Regions from separate parts of the Homo sapiens genome. Here region 1 is linked to region 2. Evidence: promoter capture Hi-C in human tissues and cell types (Jung and others, 2019). All regions are on one chromosome and are shown on one strand. Each heading gives the region's core, a stretch centred on a gene start or on the middle of the fragment in contact. The rest is flanking DNA. Distances are from core to core; before and after follow the strand shown. Region 1 has its middle 75 kb from the start of PABPC1. Region 2 holds the start of FBXO43 (F-box protein 43).

Region 1 (4,162 bases), core at 694-3,193, 650 kb after region 2:
ACACCCCGCCATGCCCGGCTAATTCTTTGTAGTTTAGTAGAGACGGGTTTTCACCATGTTGTCCAGGCTGGTCTCGAACACCTGAGGTCAGTCAGTCTGCTCGCCTCAGCCTCCCAAAGTGTTGAGATTACAGGTGTGAGCCACTGCACACGGCTAATGATGATTTTCTATTTTCTTAATTATTAATACATTTATTTGCTTTGAATTCTTCTGTAAGGAAAAGCTGTCCTTTCTCCCACATTTATTTATTTATTCAATTATTTATTGATACCAGTATGGATACATGGATATTTATTTTATACTTTGATGCTTTAAACAATTAATCAAATGTCAAATTATTTTTAAAATTTCTTCTTTTTCTTTTTTTTTTTTTTTTAGGCAGAATCTCACTCTGTCACCCAGGCTAGAGTGCAGTGGCACGATTTAGGCTCACTGCAACCTCCGCTTCCCGGGTTCAAGCGATTCTCCTGCCTCATCCTCCTGAATAGCTGGGATTACAGGCACCTGCCACCACGCTTAGCCGATTTTTTGTATTTTTGGTAGAGACAGGGTTTTACCATATTGGTCAGGCTGGTCTTGAACTCCTGACCTCAAGTGATCCACCCGCCTTGGCCTCTCAAAGTGCTGGGTTACAGCGTGAGCCACCGCACCTGGCTAAAAATTTCTTTTCTCTCTCCCATGTTCATTCTCTGCCTCTTCTTCTGTTACCCAGCATGGTTGGTGACCTAACCATGGAGTGGGCCTGCCTGTTGAGCCATTCTGCTGTGAAGAGATGGGGGTAAGTTCACGGAGAGCTGGCATTGAAGGATGGCTGGGAAGTCTCTGTGCTAGGATGGGGCAGGCAATGGCAATGTGTGTTCTAGATACTGATGTGACTCACCTGCAGTGAGGAGCAGAATTCCTAAGGTCCCCAGGAGGGCAGGAAAGGTGGGGATTCACATTCAGCCACAATGGTCAAGAAAGAGAAAAGGAGTGGGGCTTCAGAACACCTGGGGGTTGATGATGTCTTACACTTGGTGTTTCTCAAGTCCCAGGGCTCAGGTCTGGAGAAAAGGTGATTATGTAGGTCAGCGTCTCCAACTATAGAAAACAAGGCACTTGCTAGCGTAAGCTCAAGGCCATCCTCAGGAATGAATAGCTGTTGACTTTTCATTTTAAGTGCGGATTCGGGCATGTGAGGACAAAGTAATAATTCGGGTGAAAGGTCTCCCTTATGAAAGGATTCACTCTGAATCGCAGAAAACAACTCCTTCTCCTCCTAAGTACACCTTAACATTATTCCTTTTATAAGGGTAAGAGTCAAACTGGGACTTGGTAATCCAGCCAAAAACTGGATTCAGGGTGTGAATGAGCCTTATTGACTCTCTATGTATCCATAAACCACCTTGTAACCCCCCACCTGACATTATGTCTACCTGTCCTATTGAATCAGAGGTCCCCAAAGCAAGCTGAGGGTGCCTACCTTCTTGGGAGAGAAGGACCCAGGCTCCATTCCTGCCACCGTGGGTTTGTAAGTCTTCGTAGACAGTGAGCCCCTTCTGCTTGGCTTCTCCTCCTCAGCTTTTGCAGGCAAGCTAAGGCTTTAGCCTTTCCTCGAGGGAGCTTTGGCCAATTTAGGGCAAAGCGGAACTGTGTTTGGTAGTAACCTCGGGCTTGGGTTTCTGTGTCACTCAGCATACGTGGAATGTTCATGTTTCTGTCTGCCTTCACTTTCGAGCATGTTCTGTGTACCAGGCCCCATACAAAGTGCTTTAGGTAAGTATTACTATCCCATGACAAATGTTTTAGGTAAGTATTATTATCCCATTTTACACATGAAGAAACTGAGACTCAGGGATTTCCACCACCATGGATGGCACAGAGTTAGGACCGAGGTCTCTCCAGCCCCAAAGTTGAGCCTTCATCCATCAAGCCATGCCACTTTTGGAATTGTGTCTGTCCAACGTCAGAACTTCTTTCATTCCCTGTCCTTGTCCTTGTTGAATGTTGTATGTTCAGAGATTTTTCCTTGGCTTTAGGGTCTGGGTCACAACTCCACCACACCCTCAGGGACATGGTGCATCTCACCAGGGAGGTTATTCCTTCAAAAGTGTGGGCTCTTGGGGCGACACTGAAAGGGGAGTCAGAGCTTCAGAGTTTGTGGTTTCCTGGGCAAATTCCACAGTGAAAAGAACAAGACAAGAATCATTCATTTGAGTGCTTTAAAATAATAAATTATTGTTTCTATTTCCTGAGCACTTACAAAGTGCCAGGCATTGCGACAAGCACTTCACACACATTATCTCACCATATTTCCAACTACCCGCAAGGTATAGGTCCCAATCCCTTACCTGGTTCCGTTCAGATTCAGGTATGTTTCAGAATTCCGAAGCGTTCATGTTTTTAAGGGGCAAATCTGTGCCTGTACTGTATTTTTCATAACACCTCCCAGCAAGGTCTGGGGTGACATCCATCATTAGACATCGATATTTCTGCAGCTGACATATGGATAATCATGCTTAATGGGATAAATAAAAACTATATTATATAAAGTCTCATAATCTTTCAGGTCAGGTTTTACCATCAAATGAATTTCCTGCTAACTTAAAAAAAAAGCTGTTTTTCAGAGCCTACTGGATTTCTGAATTGCTGATAAGGGATTATGGATCTGGAATATTATTTTTCCCACTGTATAGATGAGAAAACTGAGATTTAGAGACATCAAGGAACTTATCCAAGGTCATACCACTAAGTGGTGGAGCCAGGGTTTGGAGCTGGTTTGATGTGCTTGTACCCCAGCACTTTTTTTTTTTAACCTCTGTTTTAACTTTAAAGCTTCACATGGCAGGAGATAAAAGTATTTGGAGGTGGGGGTTTTGGAGGTTTGTTTTTGTTTGTTTGTTTTTGTTGTTGTAGTTGTTTTTTTGGAGACAGGGTCTCACTCTGTTGCCCAGGCTGGATTGCAGTGGCATGATCATGGCTCACTGCAACCTTGACCTCCTGGGCTCAGGTGATCTTCCCATCTCAGCCTCCCAGGTAGCTGGGACTACAGGTGTGCGTGACCACACCCAGGTAATTTTTTTAGAGATGGGGTTTTGCCATGTTGCCCAGGCTGGTCTCAAAATGCTGGGCTCAAGCAATCCACCCTCCTCATCCTTCCAAAGTAGATAAAAGTTTTCGGACTTCATTGACTTTATTTCTTCATGAGGATCCACTTAAAGCTGACATCCAAATACATTTTCACTGGGAATGATTAATAAATGTTTCTCATAAATTGATAGGCTAGACCATATTTCTGTATCCAGTCACCTTCTCAAAGAGGTTAACAAAACAGAACATCATCATGTTTGGGAGGAGGAGGTGTGTAACTTTCCCATTTTCACTAAGAAAATAGTTTGTCCCTTTCTGTTCTTTCCACCTTCATGTGTTTTCTTGTTTGGTTCCATTTCTGCTCTGGTTAATGTATTTGAAGCCTCTGGTTTCCGTTCATCCAGGTGCCAGGAGCCACTGGTGTCCCCATCGCCTCATTTTCTTCCCCTAGGCAGGGCTTCTCCTCAGCATCTCATTGACCCCATTGTTCAAAGTTCTTGCCAATCCTCCCATCCATGGATTTCAATATGTAAACCCCATCTTGACAACTACTTGCTGAGTGAATATTAGAGAAATAGGATCGTTTCACATAAACATCTGCTACTTCATTCTAGAACTTAAAAGTTTGTGATTCCAGTTAAAGCAGACGAGCCTGTTTTTCAGGGGATTGCAGAGGACAGAGGTGAGGGGTGTGTGTGTATTCCTGCTGCTTTGCCAAGTCTCCCACCTCCTCCAAGTCACTAAGAATGGGGACACCTGGCCAGCTACTCAGCAAGACATCAGATTCTGGGAGGCAGATGAGAAAAGCAGGGAGAGATTGGCTTTTTGGCACTTGCATCTCTGCAGTTCAGCTGGTCTGGGCCTGGGCTAAGTGACTGTTACTGGCTACAGGTTCTGGATAATGAGTTCAGAGACTGGGATCCATTGACAGGCACTTGGTTGACTTTGTCTCTACAGTTTTTCAATTAAGTAGATTGTTCTTCTGAAGGCAATTTTGAAACATCCAAATTTTGGTGGGACAGAGCAATTGCCGGTATTGTTAGGTTATTTGGTAGCATCTGAGGATGGGGAAAAGAAAAACAATACAAAGTGG
Region 2 (3,850 bases), core at 241-2,740:
CATAGTGAGACCCCATCTCTTAAAAAAAAAATTGTTTCTGTTCATCTACACACTTGAAGTTGCCTCCAACGTCCTTTCTCTGCTAGCATTTTCATCTTTCTACTACCCCAAGACGTTGGTCTCAAACGTGGTTCTTCGCAACTGAATTTTAAAATTATTCATGTAAAATCATGGACTGTCTGTTGTATTTTATGGACTCAACAGTTCACGGATAAATCAATCAAGCCTCTTCGATATTCATTTTTAAAAACTAGGCTTCTGATAAAAGGCTGAGAAAACTTATTCCTAAAGTGTTCTTTAAGAAAAAAAAAAAAAAAAGCAGCGGCCGGGCGCGGTGGCTCACGCCCGTAATCCCAGCACTTTGGGAGGCCGGGGCGGGCGGATCACGAGGTCAGGAGAGCGAGACCAACCTGGCTAACACGGTGAAACCCCGTCTCCACTAAAAATACAAAAAAATTATCCGGGCGTGGTGGCGGGCGCCTGTAGTCCCAGCTACTCGGGAGGCTGAGGCAGGAGAATGGCGTGAACCCGGGAGGTGGAGCTTGCAGTGAGCCGAGATCGCGCCACTGCACTCCAGCCTGGGCGACAGAGCGACTCCGTCTCAAAAAAAAAAAAAGAAAGAAAAAAGAAAAAGAAAAAAAAGAAAAAGCACCTACCACATCAGAGAATGAAGTACTTACATTAAACCCAAATGTTCTTCATTTGTTAAAGTGGAAACTCTTACCATCAGTAAATCTTGAGCTCTTAGATGTCAAAGTTACGTAGGCTTCCAAACAAGAAATTCTCTCATCTTTGTCTTTAAAACTCATGCCAAAATAATGCCACTTAAAGAGGAAAACTTTAGTTTGCACAATTAATTGAAAGGTGCAGCAGCATCATGATTGCTCAAAGTCGAAGGGTACACAGGGTGCATGCCGCAGGGATTATTCCTAACACTTGAGAAGGTCTAAATCATTTTGAATTTCCTTCAGCCCTCCAGAAAATAGTTATCTTAATATCCTTGTTTTCTCCAGCTGGACTTAGACATGAGTAAACTTCCCAAATTCGGGTTCCTGAAAAGGCAGCGTGTGCTGCAGCCTGGCACTGACTCCCCCGAGGAGCTATGGCGGGCGGGTGGGTAACGGTCTCACCAGGGCGTCAAAGATCCGCTAGGCCCAGAAAGCCAAGGGCAGCAGGGGATGGGCTGGCGTCACCAGGAGCGGAGGAGTGAGGGCTGCCGCGCGCCTCCCTAGGCCCAGCACCTGGAAGACACAGGGCGACGCGGGGCCGGGCCGCCGGGAGACCCGCTAACGGGCACTCGCCTGGGGTCCCGCCGCCTGCCTGGAGGCCGCGGGGCCGGGCGAGGCGCCGAAGCGGACAGGTGGGAGAGGAGCCGGGCAGCAGCCGCTGGATGGGCCGGGGAGAAGCCTCGGCCTCGCCCCCTGGGATGCGGGCTATGGCAACCCCCACGCCAGCTTCGCGTGGGGCCGCTGCCTTTACCTCCTTAGGTTTGAACGGCCCGCCCGGGGTAACCGCTAAGCGCAGCCCCGCCCCGCGCCGCGCTGTCCCGCCCCTTCCTCCGGCTCTGCAGCGCTCCCGCCCGGCCGCCCGCAGGCCTGGGTCCTCGCTTGAGCGGGAGGAGCGCCCCCTCTCTCGCTCACCCCTGCACCCGTCCCGAGGCGGGTCAGAAAGGCTCTGCTTCTCCCCATTCCCACTTTGGGAAGCATTACCGTATTTAGGAATGCTAACGTGGCCTACAGTGGGATGCCATTAGAAATCATGTATGAGAATGTTCCCTTGGAAATGATTCTCCAAACTGTCAAGTGCAAAAAGCAAGTTACAAACTGACCCCTTTTAGGTTAAAAATATGGATATACACAGGATGAGGTCTGAAAGGTATGAATAACTTGGATACGGTAAATTTGTACAGGATTATGTTTGCTTTTTAGTTCTTTTTATCTGTGTTTTCTTCTCATGTTTCAACAATGAATATATACAGATTTTGTGATAAAAAAGCTGAGCCGGGCCTGGTGGCTCACATCTGTAATCCCAGCACAGAGGTGGGAGGATCACTTGAGCCAAGGAATTTGAGACCAGCCTGGGCAACATAGTGAGACCCCCATCTCAAAAAAAAGATTTTTAAAAAATCTATTCATAAAAACCAGAGTGAAATGTGTTCATTGTTTACAAACATCCATTTTTGGGCATCATGAACTCCCAAGTACCCTCAAAGCCAAATAAATTTTTTAAACCCTAATTTTTTCATTCAATAAATATTTACTGGGCGTCTATTATATGCCAGGGACACTCCTGCTGCTCTTGGCAGCTTCTTCCTAGTCTCCTTTTTCTGGCTTCTTTTCCTTGGCCTACTCCCTAAATGAGAGGTCCTACCTCAGCATTTTTATTAGTTTATCATCCCATGCTTATGTAATTCTTATTCAGAACTTCAACCATCACTTTTAAGCCAATAACAGGCACTACCACCACTCTTCTCTGACTGGACATTTCTCCAACTGGATGTCCCTCAGTCATCCAAAACCAAACTCACTAAAATTATTATGAGACAGGGTCTCGCTCTGTCACGCACGCTGGAGTGCCGTGGTGCAATCTTGGCTCACTGCAACCTCCACCTCCCAGGTTCAAACGATTCTCCTGCCTCAGCCTCCCGAGTAGCTGGGATGACAGGCACCCGCCACCACGCCTAGCTAATTTTTGTATTTTCAGTAGAGACGGAGTTTTGCCAGGTTGGCCAGGCTGGTCTCGAACTCCTGACCTCAGGTGATCCACCTGCCTCAGCCTCCCAAAGTGCTGAGATTACAGGCATGAGCCACTGTGCCCGTCCACTAACAGTTATTAAATTCCAACTATGTGCCAATTACTGTGCTAGGTACTGGGAATACAGAGCTGACACAGCCACAGTTACTGCTGTTAAGGAGCTCATTGGTATAGAGCAAGTGCTGTAACAGAGGAACAGTAGCAGCACAAAGGAAAGAAGAACCAGCTAACTCTACTGGAGAACAGAGTGCATGAGATAGATTTTGATGTACAAGTGGCAATTTAAAAGGCAGACAGCAGGAAATTCCAAACTTAAAATGTATAAGGGCAGGAAAATTTCAAACTCAAAACAAAATGTGCAAGAGCAGTTGGGCACATGGAGAAGCTGCAAATAATTTGTTATAGGCAGAAACTAAGAGTTGTTAGAGGAAAGGATTAGAGAAAATTCCTGAGAAGTGAAGAAGCTAAGTCTTGGGAAGTTCTGGTTGCACCTTCAGAGTTTGAAGAGCATTTTAGAAAGTCCACTCTGGTGGCAGAATGGAGGACAGAATGAAGAGAGGCAAGGGTGGCTGCTAGGAGACCAGTAGGAAGCTACTGCATTTCTCCAGAAGGCAGTGGGGGGTGGAGCAGAACCAAGATGTGACATGTTCAGTTGGCAGAATCAACTGCATGGGGCAAGGAGTGAGGGAATGAAGAGTATAGGCTTGGGAGAAAATAAGATGCATTTAGTGTGAGGTTGTTAAGTTTGAGGTACCTGTAGGACTGTAAAGAATTAATGAATTACACATTCTTCAAGACAGCACCTCTCTGAAGCCTACCCCCACACTCCCTGGTAGAGTGAATAGTACCCTCTCTAGCTCTTCAAACAAATCTCTATTACAGCCATTTTACCCTTTCCTGCCCCACATTTGCAATTCTCCTGCAGAATTCTACTGAATTTTCTCTGTGTAGTTTACTACCTTCTAAAATCCCATATTATCTACTCATTTTTGTTTAATGTCTGCTCCCCATCTCCATCCCAATGTAAACAGGGCAGGGAATTTTGCCAATGGTTAAGTAGAATCCACATAACCCCAAAACCATTTAAACATTGCCC

Evidence for each region. Contacts are between HindIII fragments. The study calls those that stand out against the background at their distance.
Region 1: a fragment that was not itself captured here is called in contact with the fragment with the promoter of FBXO43 in region 2 in 1 of the 25 tissues and cell types used here (dorsolateral prefrontal cortex).

What each region holds. Positions count from the first base shown.
Region 1 is chr8:100,795,062-100,799,223 of GRCh38, forward strand. No RefSeq gene overlaps it. Among named protein-coding and RNA genes, the nearest start is that of PABPC1, 75 kb to the left of the region's middle. The HindIII fragment of the contact is 5,520 bases long and covers 1-4,162 here.
Region 2 is chr8:100,144,327-100,148,176 of GRCh38, forward strand. It overlaps FBXO43 (F-box protein 43), which reads right to left and starts at 1,491. Exons shown (of 5, transcript NM_001029860.4): 1 at 725-1,491. The coding sequence starts at 809. RefSeq lists an enhancer at 1-103 and a silencer at 1,215-1,674. The HindIII fragment of the contact is 9,588 bases long and covers 1-3,850 here.